Regions from separate parts of the Homo sapiens genome. Here region 2 is linked to region 1. Evidence: promoter capture Hi-C in human tissues and cell types (Jung and others, 2019). All regions are on one chromosome and are shown on one strand. Each heading gives the region's core, a stretch centred on a gene start or on the middle of the fragment in contact. The rest is flanking DNA. Distances are from core to core; before and after follow the strand shown.

Evidence for each region. The method cuts DNA at HindIII sites, captures the fragments that hold promoters and counts their contacts. A contact is called where the count stands out against the background at its distance.
Region 2: a fragment that was not itself captured here is called in contact with the fragment with the promoter of HAVCR1 in region 1 in 3 of the 25 tissues and cell types used here (lymphoblastoid cells, neural progenitor cells and thymus).

The regions. Positions count from the first base shown.
Region 1 is chr5:157,057,720-157,064,003 of GRCh38, forward strand. It overlaps HAVCR1 (hepatitis A virus cellular receptor 1), which reads right to left and starts at 1,397. Exons shown (of 9, transcript NM_001173393.3): 1 at 1,202-1,397; 2 at 179-236. The coding sequence starts at 224. The HindIII fragment of the contact is 13,602 bases long and covers 1-5,578 here.
Region 2 is chr5:156,881,060-156,887,282 of GRCh38, forward strand. No RefSeq gene overlaps it. Among named protein-coding and RNA genes, the nearest start is that of PPP1R2B, 34 kb to the left of the region's middle. The HindIII fragment of the contact is 4,804 bases long and covers 723-5,526 here.

The DNA.
Region 1 (6,284 bases), core at 147-2,646:
TTTGGCCTAAAACTTTATTCTGGTCCTGCTCACTAGTTAACTCATAGCCATACAACGGTACCCAAAGAACATCTACATTAATCCACCACCACCATCCCCTCCCCTTCCCCTACCCCATTCTCTGGCTTCTAACCCCCCTCTACTCCCTTCTTCCCGCCCAGGGCACCTACTCACTTACCTGCCAGATGTAGGATGAGGCTTAAGATGACCACTTGAGGATGCATTATGGGATCAGCCTGAAGGAAAATGAGCAGACAGGCTGGTTGGTACCCTCCACCAGATGGTATCTGATCAAGTCTTAAATCTCAGATTGCAACTTATCTTTTCACCCAGTTGGTTGATTCATATGAGCCTGCTCTGCTGGAAATGAGAGAAGACCACATATAACGGCTTCAGAGCTCTGTTAGTTCCCTGCAGCTGAGAGCTCTGTGCCTTCCAAAGGACAGGGAAAGCTGTCCACAGAAACAGCCCCTGACTTCCCAGCTTCTTCCCCACACATAACCGCCAAACTGACTCCTGGTCCTGATACAGGGTATCAGGGGAACAAACAAAAAGGAAACAGGGCCGGGCGCGGTGGCTCAAACCTGTAATCCTAGCACTTTGGGAGGCCAAGGCGGGCAGATCACGAAGTCAGGAGATCGAGACCATCCTGGCTAAAAGGGTGAAACCCCGTCTCTACTAAAAATACAAAAAATTAGCCGGGCGTGGTCACTGGCGCCTGTAGTCCCAGCTACTCGGGAGGCTGAGGCAGGAGAATGGCGTGAACCCGCGGGAGGCGGAGCTTGCGGTGAGCCGAGATCGCGCCACTGCACTCCAGCCTGGGCGACAGAGCAAGACTCCGTCTCAAAAAACAAAACAAAAAAAAAGAAAAGAAAAGGAAACTGGAAGCAGAGAACCAGCGTGGCTCAATGGCAGCACGAGAGCAAATGCCAGCCTTCCAGTGGCAGAGATGCACTTGCTTTTCAGAGTAAACTGGGCCTCTGGTGGACGTGGAGCTTTTCCTACTCAGTGGCCACAACGACTTATCCCTAGCCTTAACAGTCATATTGCCAAGTTTGCCATTAGCAAGAGAAATTGAGAGTGAATGTGAATCACTGTGCCTAACCTTTCATGCTCCTGTACAACATGCTTCAGACTACACCTCCTTACCAAGGGACTTCAAGAGAATGCTTCAGGAAACAGAAGTCTGGAGCAGACTTACGTTCAGATCCAGGCTCTGTCACTCACAATGCTGGGTAACCCTGAGAGTTCCTGAGTTCTCTTCAAACCTCTATTTCCTCAGTTGTAAAATAGCACTAAAAATGCTTCCTCTATCTCCCACCAAGGATTGATATAATAAGCAAAAAGGGCCACGGAAGAACTTGGAAAACTAAACCTACATCATATGCAGTAATAGCACTAGCTGAGGTTTTTGGAGAATACTATATAGCAGGCTCTGTGTCAAGCACCCACATGCGTTAAATCGGGCTGTTGACTTCTGCTGTTAATCATTAAACCATACAAACATGAGTAAGCTTGCCTAGTACTTCATTAACTCCTCTTCTGGTCTAAGAATTCAGTAACTTCCAAGGAGGCAGTGGTGGTCTGTATCTTGCAGCTCATGACAGGGTTCATGGGGAAGTGGATGATCTCAGCATAGTGTTTTGTATGGCAGCGTTTAAAAATTCATTTCTTGACCGGGCATGGTGGCTCGTGCCTGTAACCCCAGCACTTTGGGAGGCCGAGTAGGCCAGTCACCTGAGGTCGGGAGTTCAAGACCAGCCTGGCTAACACGGTGAAACCCCGACTCTACTAAAAATACAAAAATTAGCTGGGGGTGGTGGCGGGCGCCTGTAATCCCAGCTACTTAGGAGGCTGAGGTAGAAGAATTGCTTGAACCTGGAAGGTGGAGGTTGCAGTGAGCCGAGATCAAGCCATTGCACTCTAGCCTGGACAACAAGAACAAAACTCCATCTCAAAAATAAAAATAAAAATTCATTTCTTGCCAGGCACAGTGGCTCACGCCTGTAATCCCAACACTTTGGGAGGCCAAGGCAAGTGGATCACCTGAGGTAAGGAGTTTGAGACCAACCTGGGCAACATAGCAAGACTCCCTCTCTGCAAAAAAAACGAACAAAAAATATAGTCAGGCCTTGTGTACCTGACCGTAGTCCCAGCTACTCAGGAGGCTGAGGCAGGAGGGTTGCTTGAGCCCAGCAGTTGGAGGCTATGATTGTGCCACTGCACACCAGCCGGGGTGACAGAGCAAGACCCTGTTTCTTAAGGAAAAAAAGATTGAAAAAAAAAAGCTAATTCAATTCAACCAGTTATTACTAACATATTGAGCTGATGGGACATGACTCAATATACTAGGGACGTCAAAAATCCAGACTTGTGCAATCGGGCAGGGACATGGGTAAGTAAGCAACTAATGAAATCAGGATAAGTGAGGTAAAGGTAAATATATAATCAGACTACATCATTCCCCCACTTATAACCCTCTCATAACTCTCTCAGAAAAATAATAATAATAATAATAATAATAATTCCTAAATCTTTACTCAAATTACTGAAGCCCTGGTGGTCTGGCCCTGACCTACCCCATAGATTTCTTCTACCACTCTCTCCCCTGCTGACTCAGCCCCAGCTACTAGAGCTTTCTTTCCAACTTGCCTCAACCCTAAGGCCTTTTCCGTGGCTGTGTTCTCCATCTAGCTCCCCAGCCCCACCATTTTCACTTTTTTCCTTTTCATTTTTATCCCGGCTTAAATATGACCTCCCTGGACATTTTTCACAGGTCCTTCAATCTAAAGTAGCCAACCAGTCCCTCTCACTATTATTATCTTGTTTTCCTTAATCCATTTTATCTGTGTGTGCAATATATGTGGTGTCTGTCTCTATTCCCTCCTATAGAGTGCTGCCCGGTAGAATTTTAGTAATGGAGTTATTCTGGTAACGGAGTTATTCTGGAACTGATGAGCCACAGAGAGCCAAGACAGGGATGTGGAGCCAGTGCTCTGAGATGTTACATAACTGTACAATTCCATAGGATTTGAATTTGAATTCCATAGGATCGATTCTGTCTCCAGTAGAATATTGGTTACAGAGTTATTCTGTGTGAGTGTCGTGCACTACAGCAGCCACTAGCCACATATGACTATTGAGCACTTGAAATGTGGCTAAGGCAACCAAGGCATTTTTAATTTTTTTTTTTTCCAAGACAGAGCCTGACTCTGTCACCCAGGCTGGAGTGCAGTGTCACAATCTCAGCTCAGTGCAACCTCCATCTCCTGGGTTTAAGTGATTCTCTTGCCACAGTCTCCTGAGTAGCTGGGACTACAGACACGCGCCACCATGCCTGGCTAATTTTTGTATTTTTAGCAGAGGTGGAGTTTCACCATGTTGGCCAGGCTGGGCTGGAACTCCTGGCCTCAAGTGATACGCTCATCTCAACTTCCAAAAGTGCTGGAATTACAGGTGTGAGCCGCCATGCCTGGCCTAAAAATTTTTATTTAATTTCATTTTAATTAAAATTTCAGATTGCTTGAGCCCAGGAGACAGTCTTCGGGGAGTTGAGATGGCACCACTGCACTCAAGCCTTAGATGACAGAGCTTTCAAAAAAATAAATTAATTAAAAACAAAAAAATAAAATTTAAATTGTCACACATAGTGACTGTGTTGTGTGGCACCCAACTCCAGACCATAAACTCCTTTAAGGCAATTTAAGTGTTGAAGCCAGGCATGGTTGCTCACACCTGTAATCCAAAGGAGGCCGAGGTGGGAGGATCACTTGAGGTCAGGGGTTCCAAACCAGCCTGGCCAACATGGTGAAACCCAACTCTACCAAAAATGCAAAAATTAGCCAGGCGTGGTGGCGGGTGCCTGTAATCCCAGCTACTCAGGAGGCTGAGGCAAGAGAATCGCCTGAACCCGGGAGGCAGAATTTACCCTGAGCGGAGATCATGCCACTGCACTCTGGCCTGGGCCACAGAGTGAGACTTCTCAAAAAAAAAAAAGTTATTAATTGAATAGATAAACAAATGGAAACACAAACCCATAGGGAAAGACCATTCATTTTGATGACGGAATGTGGGGGGTGGGAAGAATTTCTTAAAAAGTGACATGTGAGAAGAATGGGTGGAGGGTGTTTCAACTGGAGGAAATGATGAGCCAGAGAGAGCCAGGACAGGGATGTGGAGCCAAGGCTCTGAGATGTTACATAACTGTACAATTCCATAGGGTTGAATTTTCTGACACAGGACCATCTCCCATGAGAGACGCCTGTGTTCTAAAGACTCCCAAACAATATAGCACAGTGGATTTTTTTAATGAGCTATACAACCTCCAGGGATCACTACTCTTTAGGGCAAACTTCATGACCCCCCTGAAGGATGCATCCCAGTTGTAGGGTAAAGCTGGAAGTGACAATACTTGGGCACCAAAGCTGAATTTCCAGCTGCTCACTAGGGAGCTGCATCTGTATAAACCAAGATTAACGGCAGTGAATTGAAATGATTCAGAACATGGGCCGGGCACGGTGGTGGGTGCCTGTAATCCCAGCTACTTGGGAGGCTGAGGCAGGAGAATTGCTCGAACCCGGGAGGTGGAGGTTGCAGTGAGCTGAGATCGTGCCACTGCACTCCAGCCTGGACAACAGATTGACACCCTGTCTCAAAAAAAAGAAAGAATTCAGAAAAGAAAATAATTCACTGTTCTTTCTTGCAATCACCACTTACTTCCCTGCTATCTCAGCGCACATCGTACCTCCAGCTCCAGCCTCCTGCAAAACAGTTCAGCTGTTCATATTCCCCATGCTTTCACCACAGCAAGATCTTCTTAGGCCCCCTCCACAACTAGGGACTCACCAACTCCACATCATTGTACCTGTCAGTCTCTCCCTCATCCCCATCACTTTATATTAGGCCTCTATAATCCAGACTTCTGCAATTCCCTCCAAAACTGTCTTCCTACCTTTCAGTTCTCTTCCTGCCCTGCCCACTGCCCTAAGCTAGTTATTTTCCTTCACTTACTCCTCTGATTTCATAACAAGTAATATAATGCTTCTTTTTTTTATATCTTTTACAAAGATATAAAAATTACAGGGTACCACCTATGTTTACCATAGAAAATACATAAAAGCCCAAGTATGGTGGCTCACACCTGTAATCCCAGCACTTTGGGAGGCCAAGGCAGGAGGATCACTTGAGGTTAGGAGTTCAAGACCAGCCTGGCCAATATGGCAAACCCCTGTCTCTACTAAAACTACAAAAATTAGCCAGGCGTGGTGGCGCGTGCCTGTAGTCTCAGATACTAGGGAGGCTGAGGCAAGAGAATCGCTTGAACCTGGGAGGTGGAGGTTGCAGTGAGCTGAGATCACACACCACTGCACTCCAGCCTGGGTGACAGAGCGAGATTCTGTCTCAAAAAAAAAAAGAAAGAAAGAAAGAAAGAAAGAAAATATATAAAAATACCAAAAGTGTACTCATTTAACAATTATTTGTTGATGATCTGCGATATGTTAGAAATGATCCTATTCATCTGGAATGTACCAATGAACCAAAGACCCCTGGCCTCATGTAACTTACATTTTTTTTTTTTTTTTTGAGATGGAGCTTCGCTTTTTTTGCCCAGGCTGGAGGGCAATGGCACGATCTCAGCTCACTGCAAACTCTGCCTCCTGGGTTCAAGCGATTCTCCTACCTCAGCCTCCCAAGAAGCTGGGATTACAGGCATGCATCACCACACCGGCTAATTTTTGTAATTTTAGCAGAGACGGGGTTTCACCATGTTGGTTAGGCTGGTCACGAACTCCTGACCTCAAGTGATCTGCCCGCCTTGGCCTCCCAAAGTGCTGGGATTATAGGCGTGAGCACCACTCCTGGCCTCATGTAACTAACTTTTAACTGAAAAATAAATATACAGATTTTTAAAACATCACTAAAATGTAATTTATCAGCATATTACAAGTTGAGGAATGCTAATGCAAAAAAGGCAAAAGGATACACAAGAGCAGGGTGAAGGTGGTTGGGAGTGGAGGGTTGAGGAGGCACTGAGTTGCAATTTTAAACAAGGTGGTCAGGTTTGAATAGTCTCTATTACTTTCACCAAGAAGGTGATTATTTGAACTAAGACAAAGGACAAGGAAGTTAGCCAAGACAGCAAACGCTTTCCATGGAGACAGACAAGAAGGGCAAAGGCCCTAAGGCAGGAGGGTGCCTGGTGTGTTTACAGGGCAAGAGAGGCCAGCGTGACTGCAACAGAGCGAGGGACAGGGATCACAGAGGAGTGAGGGCAGAGGACAGAC
Region 2 (6,223 bases), core at 1,875-4,374, 170 kb before region 1:
TTTTAACTCCTACAGCTCACATATGTCATAATTTTGGAAAAAAAAATCCAAATTGCTGCCAGGTGCAGTGGCTCACGCCTGTAATCCCAGCACTTTGGGAGACTGAGATGGGCGGATCATGAGGTCAGGAGATCAAGACCATCCTGGCTAACAAGGTGAAACCCCATCTCTACTGAAAATAGAAAAATTAGCCGGGTGTGATGGCGGGCGCCTGCAGTCCCTGCTCCTCGGGAGGCTGAGGCAGGAGAATCGCTTGAACCCGGCAGGCAGAGCTTGCAGTGAGCCAAGATTGTGCCACTGCACTCCAGCCTGGGCAACAGAGCCAGACTCCGTCTCAAAACAAAACAAACAAACAAACAAACATCCAAATTGCTGAGAGAGATGATCAGCTAGCATGATCATGAGAAGTCCTGGACAGCCTGAATGGACTCTGATTTTGTCATATAAACAGCTCATATTTTGAATCTGAAGTCAGGTAAGATTAAGGTAAGAAACAAAACTGTCAATCCTACTTTTACATTTCTGTAGTCATTCAGACATTTATAGAGCTCCATAGTATACCTTGTACTTTTGCAGTATACCAGGACCACGTTACACCTGGTCCTTAAGTACCTAAGAGTGATCTAAACAGACATAGTCCCTGCCTTCCCTGAGCTTCTAGTCTAGTGGAAGAAAAACAAAGAAGTAATCTAACAAATGGATGAATAACTACACATAGTGATAAGTGTTCTAGGAAGACAAGAACAAAAACAAATAGTATAGATAGAACACAGTGGCAAGGGAGCATTGCCCAGTTTAGACCGGGGGATTACAGATGAGGTCTATGAGGAAGTTCTATTTAGCTGAGAAGTGAAGGATAAGAAACAAGGGAAGAAGCAATGTTCCAGGCTGAGGTGACAGTATGTGCAATGGTGTGAAGTAGGACAGGCTGTCGAACTCCCAAGTACAGAAGACATCCAGTGTCTGGTGCACGTCACTAAGGAGGAAAAGGAGCTCCAGATGAGGTTCAGGAGGTAGACAGAGGCCAGGCCAGGCAGAGACTTGGATATACATTAAGGAGTTAGCATTTTTACCAAAAATAAATATGGCAGCCACTTTTTAGTGCAATGTAGTGACATGCTCTGAGTACATCTTGAAAAAGATTGCTCTAGCTGCTATGTACGAAATGGGCTTGGAGGTTGGTAAGGATGAAAGCCAGGACATGAGTGAGTACAGGTATCAGCAAACTGCAGCCTGCAAGCCAAATCTGCTGCACCGCCTGTTTTTGTAAGTAGAGTCCGATTGCAACACTGCACACTCATTTGTTTATGTATTATCTCTGGCTAGTCCCACACACCACCACCAGAGTTTAGTTGTTCCGACAGAGACTATATGGCCTACAAAAAATATTTAGTATTTGGCCTTTTGAAAAAAAAAAAAAAAAGCCAACTCCTGAGCTAAAAGTCTGCAGCAGTAGTCAAAATGCTATATGGTGGTAGCTAATCAGCATTTGTCCAACAAGAACTATTGAGCACCTACTGTATGCCAAGGAGACCAGATCCCCATAACTATAAATACTATGTAAGACTAGGTCTCCATTCTCCAAAACTCTCCATCTCATAAGACCCATCTTTAAAATATTCTACTTTTCCAGTGCCTCAATGACTCTTTCCCAAAACTGCAAGTCTGCCTTGAGTTCTAGCCTCTCTGTAAAGTTTTCCCTTACTTACACCTTACTCTGTGTTTTTGAACTCCAGCCATAAGTATCTCCTATGTCCAATACTTTGGGTGTGATTATACTGAGCGTATTTGTGGGTTTGGATAACGAAAACATTTTCTCCTGCAGTTATGAGAACAATCTTCTCCACCTTTTCTCCTAACCTCCAAGGTACCACTCAATCCTGCCCAAAGAGAGAACCCCAGCTCCAAGGCTACAGTAGTTCATTCAGAGATGGACTAGGATGGACTAGGACCCTAACAATCTCCTCCAGAGGTGGATGGTGGGAGGGTGGGTTCTGCTGGAACAGGTAAGGAAGACTGCCTTTTTTCTCTGCTGTGATGGTACTAGAAGGCTATGAGTTTGGGGTGGCCAATGACTCCACCAAATGTGCTCATGGGGACCAACAGAGTCTGCCTTCAGTGAGGGGGGAGACAGTGGAGAAGGAAGCAGGCTGAGAGCTGGGAGTCCTGATGGCTGTCCTAAGCCATGCATTCCACAGTACCTCTCATCCTTCCTAATTGCAGAAGCCAATAAATTCTTAATGTTTTGCTGACTGAGTTTCTGCCATTTACAACAGAAGGAGTCCTATCCCCTATAACAGCCTTCATCAAGTAGGCAATTATCTCTACCAAAAGACGACCAAGTCAGGGCCATTTGGTATCTCCACAACTCTTAGCTTGGCGCCAGTGTAGGAGACCAAAATAGGCTGCCCCAAAATATGAAGGGCTGTTGAGTTAACGACAATAAAGAGGAAGCAGGTGCAGGAGAGTTCTCTGCCCTCCCTCTGCCTGTTTAAAGGTAGAACATCAATTTAAAAGAAAAAAAGTGTCCCCTTCACCTGCCCCTTACACCAGGGAGAACAAAGTTAATCACCAACTTTGGTTCCTTTTCAGCCTGCAGATGGTACAAGCTTTACTAACAAGCCTTTATCTGCCTTTCCATAAGGTGCTGCCCCTAAAGACTCAAAGTTCTTTTCCTTCATCTCATCACTTCTCTAAAAATGTACTGCTCTTTGTTGAAGATGCTGTATAAACTAGAATTCAAAGCCACCACATCAAGAACAACTTATTCTCTGGGTGTCTCCCATGTATATATATGAAATATACATGTTACTAAACTTCTGTTTTTCTCTTGTTCATCGGCCTTTTGTTTCAGGGGATCCATTACAAACAAGAACCTGTGGGGTTGTTCTTCCCCTGCCCTAGGGAAATTCAGATCACTGGCACACTGGAAACTGACTGGTTGATGGACACATAGGTCCTTCACACTTTGCCTGGTCTGTTAGAGCTTCTCCCATAACCAGCTTCTGCCTGGGAAAAGAAACCTGGAAAGGGTCTGGTACAAAACCAAGATACTGTACCCTCTAATAGCTGTGATGTTGTCTTGGCCTGTACCTTGCTGTGTGATCTCAGATAAGTCCTCCTCAACTTCCCTATCTATAAAAGAAAATTGGCCTTCCTGAGCAAACTTCCATATTCTCCAATTCCTTGTGCTTAGGTTATGGTTCAATTCTTCCCAGAAAAGGAACATTTTTAGCCCATCATTTTGGGTCCAAGGTGACTGTTTTCATAGAGCATTATTTGATTTTGTTCTGGAAAAGTTAATATCTGAACCACACACAGAAGCAGGAGTCTGTTATTTACATCGCACTTCTCATTCCATCCTACACTTGGGCAAGCTCCACACACCAGACAAGGACAGGTTAAGGGGAATGAGAACACTTTGTTTTTTACTATGGTTATGTGTGTCCCATGAAAGACCTCAGGGACTTCTTGAAAAATGTAACAAGGAAATATGAAAAGATTTACAAATGTCTTAGAGGCTGGCATGACCTATAGGGAATTCCAAAGCTGGTGGAAAGTGTTATTTTCCTCTTTTCTATGAAAGCACCTTGTTAAAAATAAATAAAAACTGATCAAGAAGTTCTCTGGCGATGGGGCCAGGCATGGTGGCTCACGCCCGTAATCTCAGCACTTTGGGAGGCCAAGGCAGAAGGATCTCTTGAGCTCAGGAGTTCAAGACCAGCCCGGGTAACATAGCAAGACCTCATCTCTATGAAAAATTTTTTAAAAATTTAGCCAAGCATGGTGGTGCCTGCCTGTGGTCCCAGCTACTTGGGAGGTGGAGATGAGAAGATTGCCTGAGCTCAAGAGGTGGAGGCTGCAGTGAACTGTGCCTCCAGCCTGGGCAACAGAGCAAGACTCCATCTCTTTTAAAAACAAACAAAAACAAAACCCAGAACTTATCTGGCAATGGTTTCTTGTTTTCTGTCCTTAGCCCAATTTCTCACAAACCTATCACAGCTACAGTGCAGGTCAAGATCATCACAGTGTTTCTCAGCTGGGACACTATTAGCATTTTAAATGAGATAATTCTTCTTTGTGCTTCAATGTGCCTTGCATTGCAAGACATTTACTTTCCCCAATAAATGCCTGGAGCATAGTCCAACCTCACTGTGATATTCAGTCAAAACATACCCCCGTGCATTGCCAATAACCACGACAGGGTGCCAGTACCACCTCCTAATCATACTCTCTTTTTGTAAATGGGTTAAATAACATCCAGAGATGTGACATGACTTCCCCAAGATCACACAAACAAAAGGGTCAAGGCTAGATCTGAAGCTGCATATTTGGACATCCAGTCCTAGTGATCTTTATACTACCTTATTCCATCTATAATATCTGTGGGTTTTCATTCTACAGCTTGATACTGCTATAAAGCTTAGAACCAACTTACTAATATTAATACCAACCATTACCTCCCTATTATAATTTAACTGCACTTAATACATTCTTGCACTGAGCAACTTTTTTCATATTCATGAGGGTCTTCATTACCTTAAGTGGCCTCATCATGCTTGCATTTGTTCATGGACAAAGGATAGCACACTGGAATCCAAAAGCAGAGTTCTAATTCTTATCCATTGGCTCTAAAGGAGCAGAGAGGAGTTGATGGGAATTTACCCAGAAGGCAGAGATCAATTATATTCAGCAACTCAGAAAGCTACGTTGCCCAGAAAATCATAGCATTTCTGACATTTGGAGCCCTTCTGGATCAATGTTTATATTTTCTTCTGTGTTGCTCCTATTGGGTGACTCCACTACTAAGAGTAGGGTGAGTTTTTACCAGTAATAAAGTATCATGACTAAATATGCTGATCCCTTATCTGTTACAGCTCCCCAAATCCCATCCTGTTACTAAATTCTAGAGGAGGTGTGAAAAGAAAGATGCTATATTAGAGTTAGTGGTATTTGTATTACACTGTCCTGCTACGTTTAAGCCACTGGCAACAAGGACAAAAAAATCTGCCCGCACGTAATCTGGCTCTGACTCCACCTCACGCTCACGCACACCTGATCCATCAATATTGTGCAAAGGTGAAAAAGGACAGAGCCTTCAGGACTCTGTGTTCTCATGGTATTTTCAGAGCAATTCATGAACCTCTTTTAATGCATTTGCCTCCTCCAAGATGTGCTTCAGACAAGCCCACATGATCAATAATCAAGTGATGCCCCGTCACTTTTTCAGAGTTTTGGTAGACCAGCAGGCCTGGAGTTGCATTTTAATAGCAAGCCTCATAATCCAGGGAGTCTTTTTTTCTGCATAAGAATATTGTAGACACGAAAAATAGACTGCTTTAAAAGTTTAATATGATGTGAAAAGTTTGAGTACTGCTTAGCCAAAGGCATTTAAAGCAGTAAATACAATTGCAGGGAGACACTAATTTATGGCTAATGACCATCAGGGAAAAATGGGGAAAAAATGTGTATACCCCAGAGAAAATATGCGGTAATGGCAAAGTGGGTTTTTTTCCCCTCATTTTTAGCAGTGTTATTAGGAACTCATTAGGAGTCAATTAACATTTAATTTCTCTAAAATACCCAATTACAGTTTTGTTGTCCAGGAAAATAATGTTTAAAAATGTTTCTTCATATCATATGGGCTACTTCAAACAAAACTAAGTCTTTCCTCCCCACTTCCACCGCCACACACCAAAAGAGGGTCAGTTGTGGGTTTCAAGTTCCAAAAGCCCCTTTTCTATTTTTGAGAATAATCTTCCAGGGGAACCAGAGAAACTTGTCTGAGTCCTATAAAAATGCTGGCAGCTAAGCAGAATGCCCTCTTCATCTCCCCTCCTTTTGTAAAGCTGAGCGCTACCCAAAGTGTTTATCCAAATTTATTCTTCACCAAATATTTGTTGCCAACAAGGAAAAGGCACACAGAAATGTACTGTTAGCAAGGAGAGTAAAAAAAAAAAAAAAAATCTTTCATGAGAGAGGGGAAAATAAAGACCCTAAAAGATGCAATTATCGGGCATGCCTTAAAGCTAGTCATAACTATTTTAAATTACTTTGCATATAAATATCAGTTATCCCAATAGGAAAATGTAAAACCCAAAGAGAAGTGCCTAGCAATGATTGACTTATAAATCTGGCATTATTGTTGGTAGAGTTATGCAATAGAAAAATGCGTAGCACCCTACCCTATGTTCCCAATCCACCTTCAGTTCTCTCCTCTGAA